2 separate regions of the Homo sapiens genome follow, and region 2 is linked to region 1. Evidence: promoter capture Hi-C in 16 types of primary human blood cells and fetal thymus (Javierre and others, 2016). All regions are on one chromosome and are shown on one strand. Each heading gives the region's core, a stretch centred on a gene start or on the middle of the fragment in contact. The rest is flanking DNA. Distances are from core to core; before and after follow the strand shown.

Region 1 (3,316 bases), core at 237-2,736:
TGAGACTTCAAGAAACAATAAAAGCAGCTATTATTAAGATATACCAAAATACAAGAAATCATACCATGGGAGTCCTCTGCAACTGGGCAGTGGCCATCTTCTTCTGATAAAGTATTTTCTTTAATTCAACCTTGTGACACAAATACAAGCTTTAACTTAGAGCTCATTTTTTTCCTCTAACATTTCAGTTTACCACATATAAAATTCAAAACAATTTTATGTGAATAAATTTGAATTTCTTTAATTAAAATAGAGTCTTCAAAAACGTAGAGGTCGATATTGCAGTAGAACCATTTTGAGTAGGGTCCTGATTTGAAGCCATTTGACTAGCAAGTCTCAAACAAATGGGTTATTAAGAAACTGTTTAAGAGAACTTTTTAAAAAGGCACAATCTTCCTATTTTTATTCCCTATACAAATTCAAACAATGACAACATTGTACAGGTAGGTATTCAGTAATGAAAAATTGCCTGGCAAACCCTCTAAACTTTTTCAGTTTTATTTGTTTTTATTTTTCATTTTTTTGAGACGGAGTTTCGCTCTGTCGCCAGGCTGGAGTGCAGTGGCGCGATCTCAGCTCACTGCAAGCTCCGCCTCCCGGGTTCAAGCGATTCTCCTGCCTCAGCCTCCCGAGTAGCTGGGACCACAGGTGCCCACCATATATATATATACAATTTTTTTTTTCGAGACGGTGTCTCTCTCTGTTGCCCAGGCTGGAGTGTAATGGCGCGATCTCGGCTCACCGCAACCTCCCCCTCTGGGTTCAAGTGATTCTCCTGCCTGAGCCTCCTGAGTAGCTGGGACTCCAGGCGTGCCACCACGCCCAGCTAATTTTTGTATTTCTAGTAGACACGGGGTTTCACCATGTTGGCCAGGAAACTCCTGACCTCGTGATCCGCCCGCCTCGGCCCCCAAGGTGTTGGGATTATAGGCGTGAAGCACCGTGCCCGGCCGCTAATTTTTTTTTCTATTTTTAGTGGAGACGGGGTTTCGCCATGTTGGTCAGGCTGGTCTCAAATGATCCTCCGGCCTCAGCCGCCCAACTTGCTGGGATTACAGGAAGTTGTGTGTCCGGAACCACTGTGTCCGGCCCCAGTTTCACTTTTCTTAATCAGACAATTCAGCTGGAAGAGTTTACTAAAGAGGCAAACTTCATAGAAGAACCTATTTACGTTAAACGTTTAAATTTATCCTGACAAATCCTGAATTCGCCGTCCGTACTCACCCCATCTCAAGAACCTCTGTTGACAAGTAAGTGGGTATACATTTTTACCGCAAATGTTTTACCACTAAGACCTTAAGAAACTTAAAAGTAGGGGGAAGCTGACAGACAAAGAGATTAAAAAGTAAAATATACGCACACACACACAGATATATACACACTAATATATATTACATTACGTCTGAGGGGCGGGCGCCGGAGACCAGAAGAGCTGCACGAGGCTGCACGCGCTGTGCCCGACGCGCATGCGCTTTCCTTCAACGGTCACCCGCTGGGGCGCGACAGTGGCTTTTTGACCCCTGGTCGAGGTCACCTTTCCCGCCAAGCGCAGCGCAAGGCGCACTGGGAGCCTCAGACACGGGAAGCCTCAGCGCCACGTCTCAGGCAGTGGAAAAGCCAGACAGAAGGGGGAAGGTTAAGTAACTGCATGTGCAGTTACTGAATTTCTGATTGTTTTTCTGACTTTTGATTTTCTTTCTTTTTTTTTTTTTTTTTTTTTTGAGACGGAGTTTTGCTCTTGTCGTCCAGGCTGAAGTGCAGTGGCATGATCTTGGCTCACTGCAACCTCTGCCTCCAGGGTTCAAGCAATTCTCCTGCCTCAGCCTCCCAAGTAGCTGGGATTACAGGCGTCCGCCACCATGCCCAGCTAATTTTTGTATTTTTAGTAGAGACGGGGTTTTGCCATGTTGGCCAAGCTGGTCTCAAACTCCCGACCTCAGGTGACCTGCCTCCCTCGGCCTCCCAAAGTGCTGGGATTACAGGCGTGAGCCACCACACCCGGCTGACTTTTGATTTTCTCATTGGAACTACCACAAATTGCATTCCCACCTTCCAATCTCCTGTATCTTCAGGAAACCATTTGCTTTAGCAGTCTTCTACTTAGCCACTTCCACTGTGTTATGTCATTGGGGACAATGGATAGCTTTGAATGTAATTTGTCTCATTTAGAAACAAAATAAAATCAGAGTGGGTAGGTATTAATAGTTGGAGATTATTCAGTAGTACAAGCTTCTTAGTTTACAGATTATTATATATCCAAATACATTTCTTACCAGTGTAAACATTCAATTACAGGCATACCTTGGAGATATTGCAAGTTCAGTTCCAGACCCTCCAATAAAGCAAACAACATAATAAAGCAAATTACACAATTTTTTAGTTTTCCATGTGTATAAAAGTTATGTTGGCTAGATGTGGTGGCTCATGCCAATAATCCCAGCACTTTGGGAGGCTGAGGCGGAACAATTGCTTGAGGCCAGAAATTGGGGATCAGCTTGGGCAACAAAGTGAGACCCTGTCTCTACAAAAAATAAAAAAAATTAGGCAGAGGTTGTGGCACACACCTGTAGTCTCAGCTACTCAGGAGGCTTAGGCAGGAGGATCCCTTGAGCCCAGGAGTTTGCAGTGGCAGTGAGCCCTGTTTGAGCCACTGCACTCCTGCCTAGGCGGCAGTGAGACTTGTTTCAAAAAAAAAAAATTATGGTTACACTATTAATATCTTAATATATATATATAAATTTTTTTTTTTGAGACGGAGTCTTGCTCTGTCTGTCGCCCAGGCTGGAGTGCAGTGGTGCGATCTCGGCTCACTGCAAGCTCCACCTCCTGGGTTCACACCATTCTCCTGCCTCAGCCTCCCAAGTAGCTGGGACTACAGGCGCCCGCCACCACACCCGGCTAATTTTTTTGTATTTTTAGTAGAGACAGGGTTTCACCGTGTTAGCCAGGATGGTCTTGATCTCCTGACCTCGTGATCTGCCCGCCTTGGCCTCCCAAAGTGCTGGGATTACAGGCATGAGCCACTGCGCCCAGCCCTTAATATATTTATTGTACATATCTTATGCTTTCTGTAGTCTGTTAAGTGTGCAGGAGCATAATGTCTAGAAACACAATGCACATACTTTAATTTTAAAATACTTTATTCCTAAAAAATGCTAATGATCATCTGAACAATCATCTTTTTGCCGGTGGAGGGCCTTGCCTTGATGTTAATGGCTGCTGACTGATCAGGGAGGTGTTTGCTGCATGTTGGGGTGTCTGTGGCAATTTCTTAAATTAGGACAACAATGACATTCACCACATCGATTGACTCTTC
Region 2 (3,316 bases), core at 1-2,500, 98 kb after region 1:
AATTAGCCGGGGGTGGTGGCAGGCACCTGTAATCCCAGCTATTTGGGAGGCTGAGGCAGGTGAATCACTTGAACCCAGGAGACAGAGGTCACAGTGAGCCTAGATCGTGCCATTGTATTCCATCCAGCCTGAGCAATGAGAGCAAAACTCCTTCTCAAAAAAAAAAAAAAAAAATTAACCAACCGAACAAAAAATATATGGGATTGCAAATGACCACCCCCTGGGTGACTGCTCAACAGATGATTATTTCACCCTTTTTTACCTGGGTGCCAGCTGTCCTGAGCCCATCTCCAGGGGTAAATTAGCTGTGGGACCTAGTTGTGGCCTCTGGATTGTGTTGGAGAGTGTAGGCCGTGGTTCTTGGCTAGAGTTCCTAGGAAACCAGAGTAGACAGTAAAGAGGGGGTGGAGAGGGAGGAAGGGGGGAGAGAGAGAGAAAGAGAAGAATAAGATTCTGTATGTAAAGCTCTATAGATTCATCTGTAGGTGGAACAATCAATAAATCCTTCATTAAAGTCCTATCCTATAGTTAATCTAGGGTGTCAGTTTCAGCAAACAGAAACCATGTTCTATGACACAGGGGTCATCTTGTTGGGTTCTAACTCCTTCTAGGTATTCAAAACCTGGTTATTGTGAATGTGTGTATATATTCATATAAGGTATTTTTTAAAAGCATAGGTAAAAAAATGAAAGTACATACACTGTACATCAACAAAGACTATCTGGAGTGTGAGAATTTTATTCCTTCTCTTTGTATTTTTCAATACTTTCCACATTTTCTATAAAGAATATTTATTTAAAAATAAAATACTGGCCAGGCACGGTGGCTTACACCTGTAATCCTGGCACTTTGGGAGGCTGAGGCAGGGTGGATTGCTTGAGCTCAGGAGTTTGAGACCAGCCTGGGCAACATGGTGAAGCTCCGTCTCTACAAAAAATACAAAAATTAGCAGGCGTGGTGGCGGGCTCCTGTAGTCCCAGATACTCAGGAGACAGATGGGAGGATTGCTTGAGCCTGGGAGGCGGAGGTTGCAGTGAGCTGAGATAGCGCCACCGCACTCCAGCCTGGGTGACAGAGTGAGACACTGTCTCAATGAAACAAACAAACAAACAAATCCCTAAAAGCTAATTAAAATTAATCATGGTAGGGAAAATGATACATAAACATGGAGAAAGCAATTATTTCCAGAAACTCGAGTCCTTCAAACAACTTAAATTTTTAAAAATTTAAACAAAATGGAAACACAAAAATGAAGGCTGTTGTGTAATATAAAGATGCAAAGAGACAAAAATAAAGAACTACAATGACCATGACCATCCACTTGAGTCCTAAGTTAATAAAAATTTCTAACTCAATCCACTCTGTTATACTAAGTTAGTTAGCAAAGAATTAAACTTTACAAGTTCTAAAGACTGAATTGGACAAAACTTGTCACTAGGTATTATTCATATTTGCTAAGTAGTCATAATCTGATCTTCAAGAGGTGGATTCAAGGCCAATTCTACAGAAAGAAAAGATTAAATGGCAAGGTGGTAACCTGACAATTGATACCTACTAGATGGCTACAATAAAAAAAAAAAGGCAATAACAAGTGTTAACAAGGATGTGGAGGAATCAGAGCTCCTGGGAATGCAAAATGATGGGGCAGCTTTGGAAAACAGTTTGGCAGTTCCTCAAAAGGTAAAACAGAGTTACTATGTGGCCAGCAATTCCACTCCTGGGTGGAATTCAAGAGAATAAAAACATATATCCACATAAAAACTAGTAAACAAATATTCATGAAAGCATTTTTTCAGTTCCTTATCCCTATTTTACATATGGAAGCATTTTTGATAACCAAGAAGTAGAAACAACCAAATGTCCATTAACGAACATACAGACAGTATGTGGTATATCCATACAATGAAATCTTATTTGGCAATAAAAAGAAATGAAGTACTGATACATGCTACAACATGTATCAGTACAGATAACCTCTGTAAACATTATACTAAGTAAAATAGGCCAGTTACAAAGGAATTACAAAGTCTATGATTCCATTTATACGAAAAGTCTAGAATAGACAAATTTATAAAGACAACAGATTCATAGTTATACAGAATTTCAGAGCCGGGGGAAAGAACAGGGAATGACTGTTAACTGATCTAGAATTTCTTTTGGGGGAATGAAAATATTCTGAAATTAGACTGCAGTAAGAGTTACATAACTATGTGATATACTAAAAAACACTGTATACTTTAAATGAGTGAGGTATATGGTATGTGAAATATATCTCATAAAACTTTTTAAAAAAGAAACTGAGAAAGAAAACTCAAATAGAAAAGTGCAAAAGAGAGGAACAGTAACTAATGAAAGAGGAGGATGTAGCTATGCTCTAAAGAAAACTGACCAAATCAGGCCCACTGCCTGTTTTTCTAAATAAAGATTTACTGGAACACAGCCCCATTCTTTCATTTGTCTATGACTGTTTTCATGCTACAGCAGAGTTGAGTAGGTGGAATAAAGACCACATGGCCCACAAAGCCTAAAATATTTACTATCTAGCCCCACTTATAGAAAGAGCTTGCCTACCCCTGCTCCAGAGGAAAATCCTGCCAGACTAGAGCAATAAACTGGTGTACAAAACATAGTCCTTTCCAGAAAGAGTTGATACATAGAATTGAAACTAAACCCTTCCATCTCAGGACCTAGTCTCTGAATTATTGTTTGTAAAATCTTACTCTGGCCAGGTGCAGTGGCTTACGCCTGTGATCCTAGCACTTTGGGAGGACGATGGACTGCTTGTGCCCAGGAGTTTAAGACCAGACTCTGCAACATGGAAAAATCCCATCTCTACAAAAAATACAAAAATTAGCCAGGCGTCTTGGTAGATGTCTGTAGTCCCAGCTACTCAGGGGACTGAGGTGGGAGGATCACTTGAGCCTGGGAGGTTCAAGCTGCAGTGAGCCATGATCACACCACTGCATTCCAGCCTGGGTGCCAGAGCGAGACCCTGTCTGAAAAAACAAAACAAAACAAAACAAAACAAAAAAACCTTACTCTACTCTGATCAACTATCCCAAATCCTATAAGCTGGAAAATGAAGAACTTCAAACTAATGGTGTTTAATACTAGAAAAGTAGAGGAGAAAGGGATAGCTTGATAAGACTAAGAAGAGTTGGTACATTAGAAATCCCAACATTGGAAAATGCCTATGTGATATTATGAAATACAACTGATTGCTCAACATGGAGGCTAGGGGCACTGACCCCTGTGCCATCGAAAATTCGACTGTAAACTTCTGACTCTCCCAAAACGTTACTACTAATAGCCTACT

Evidence for each region. The method cuts DNA at HindIII sites, captures the fragments that hold promoters and counts their contacts. A CHiCAGO score of 5 or more calls a contact.
Region 2: a contact is called between a fragment that was not itself captured here and the fragment with the promoter of HORMAD1 in region 1, in 5 of 17 cell types (endothelial precursors, M1 macrophages, M2 macrophages and 2 more). The highest score is 6.8, in endothelial precursors.

The regions. Positions count from the first base shown.
Region 1 is chr1:150,719,409-150,722,724 of GRCh38, forward strand. HORMAD1 (HORMA domain containing 1) reads right to left here and starts at 1,487. Exons shown (of 15, transcript NM_032132.5): 1 at 1,396-1,487; 2 at 65-130. The coding sequence starts at 97. The HindIII fragment of the contact is 2,080 bases long and covers 148-2,227 here.
Region 2 is chr1:150,817,658-150,820,973 of GRCh38, forward strand. It overlaps ARNT (aryl hydrocarbon receptor nuclear translocator), which reads right to left. Exons shown (of 22, transcript NM_001668.4): 15 at 263-373. Among named protein-coding and RNA genes, the nearest start is that of CTSK, 11 kb to the left of the region's middle. The HindIII fragment of the contact is 4,466 bases long and covers 1-3,316 here.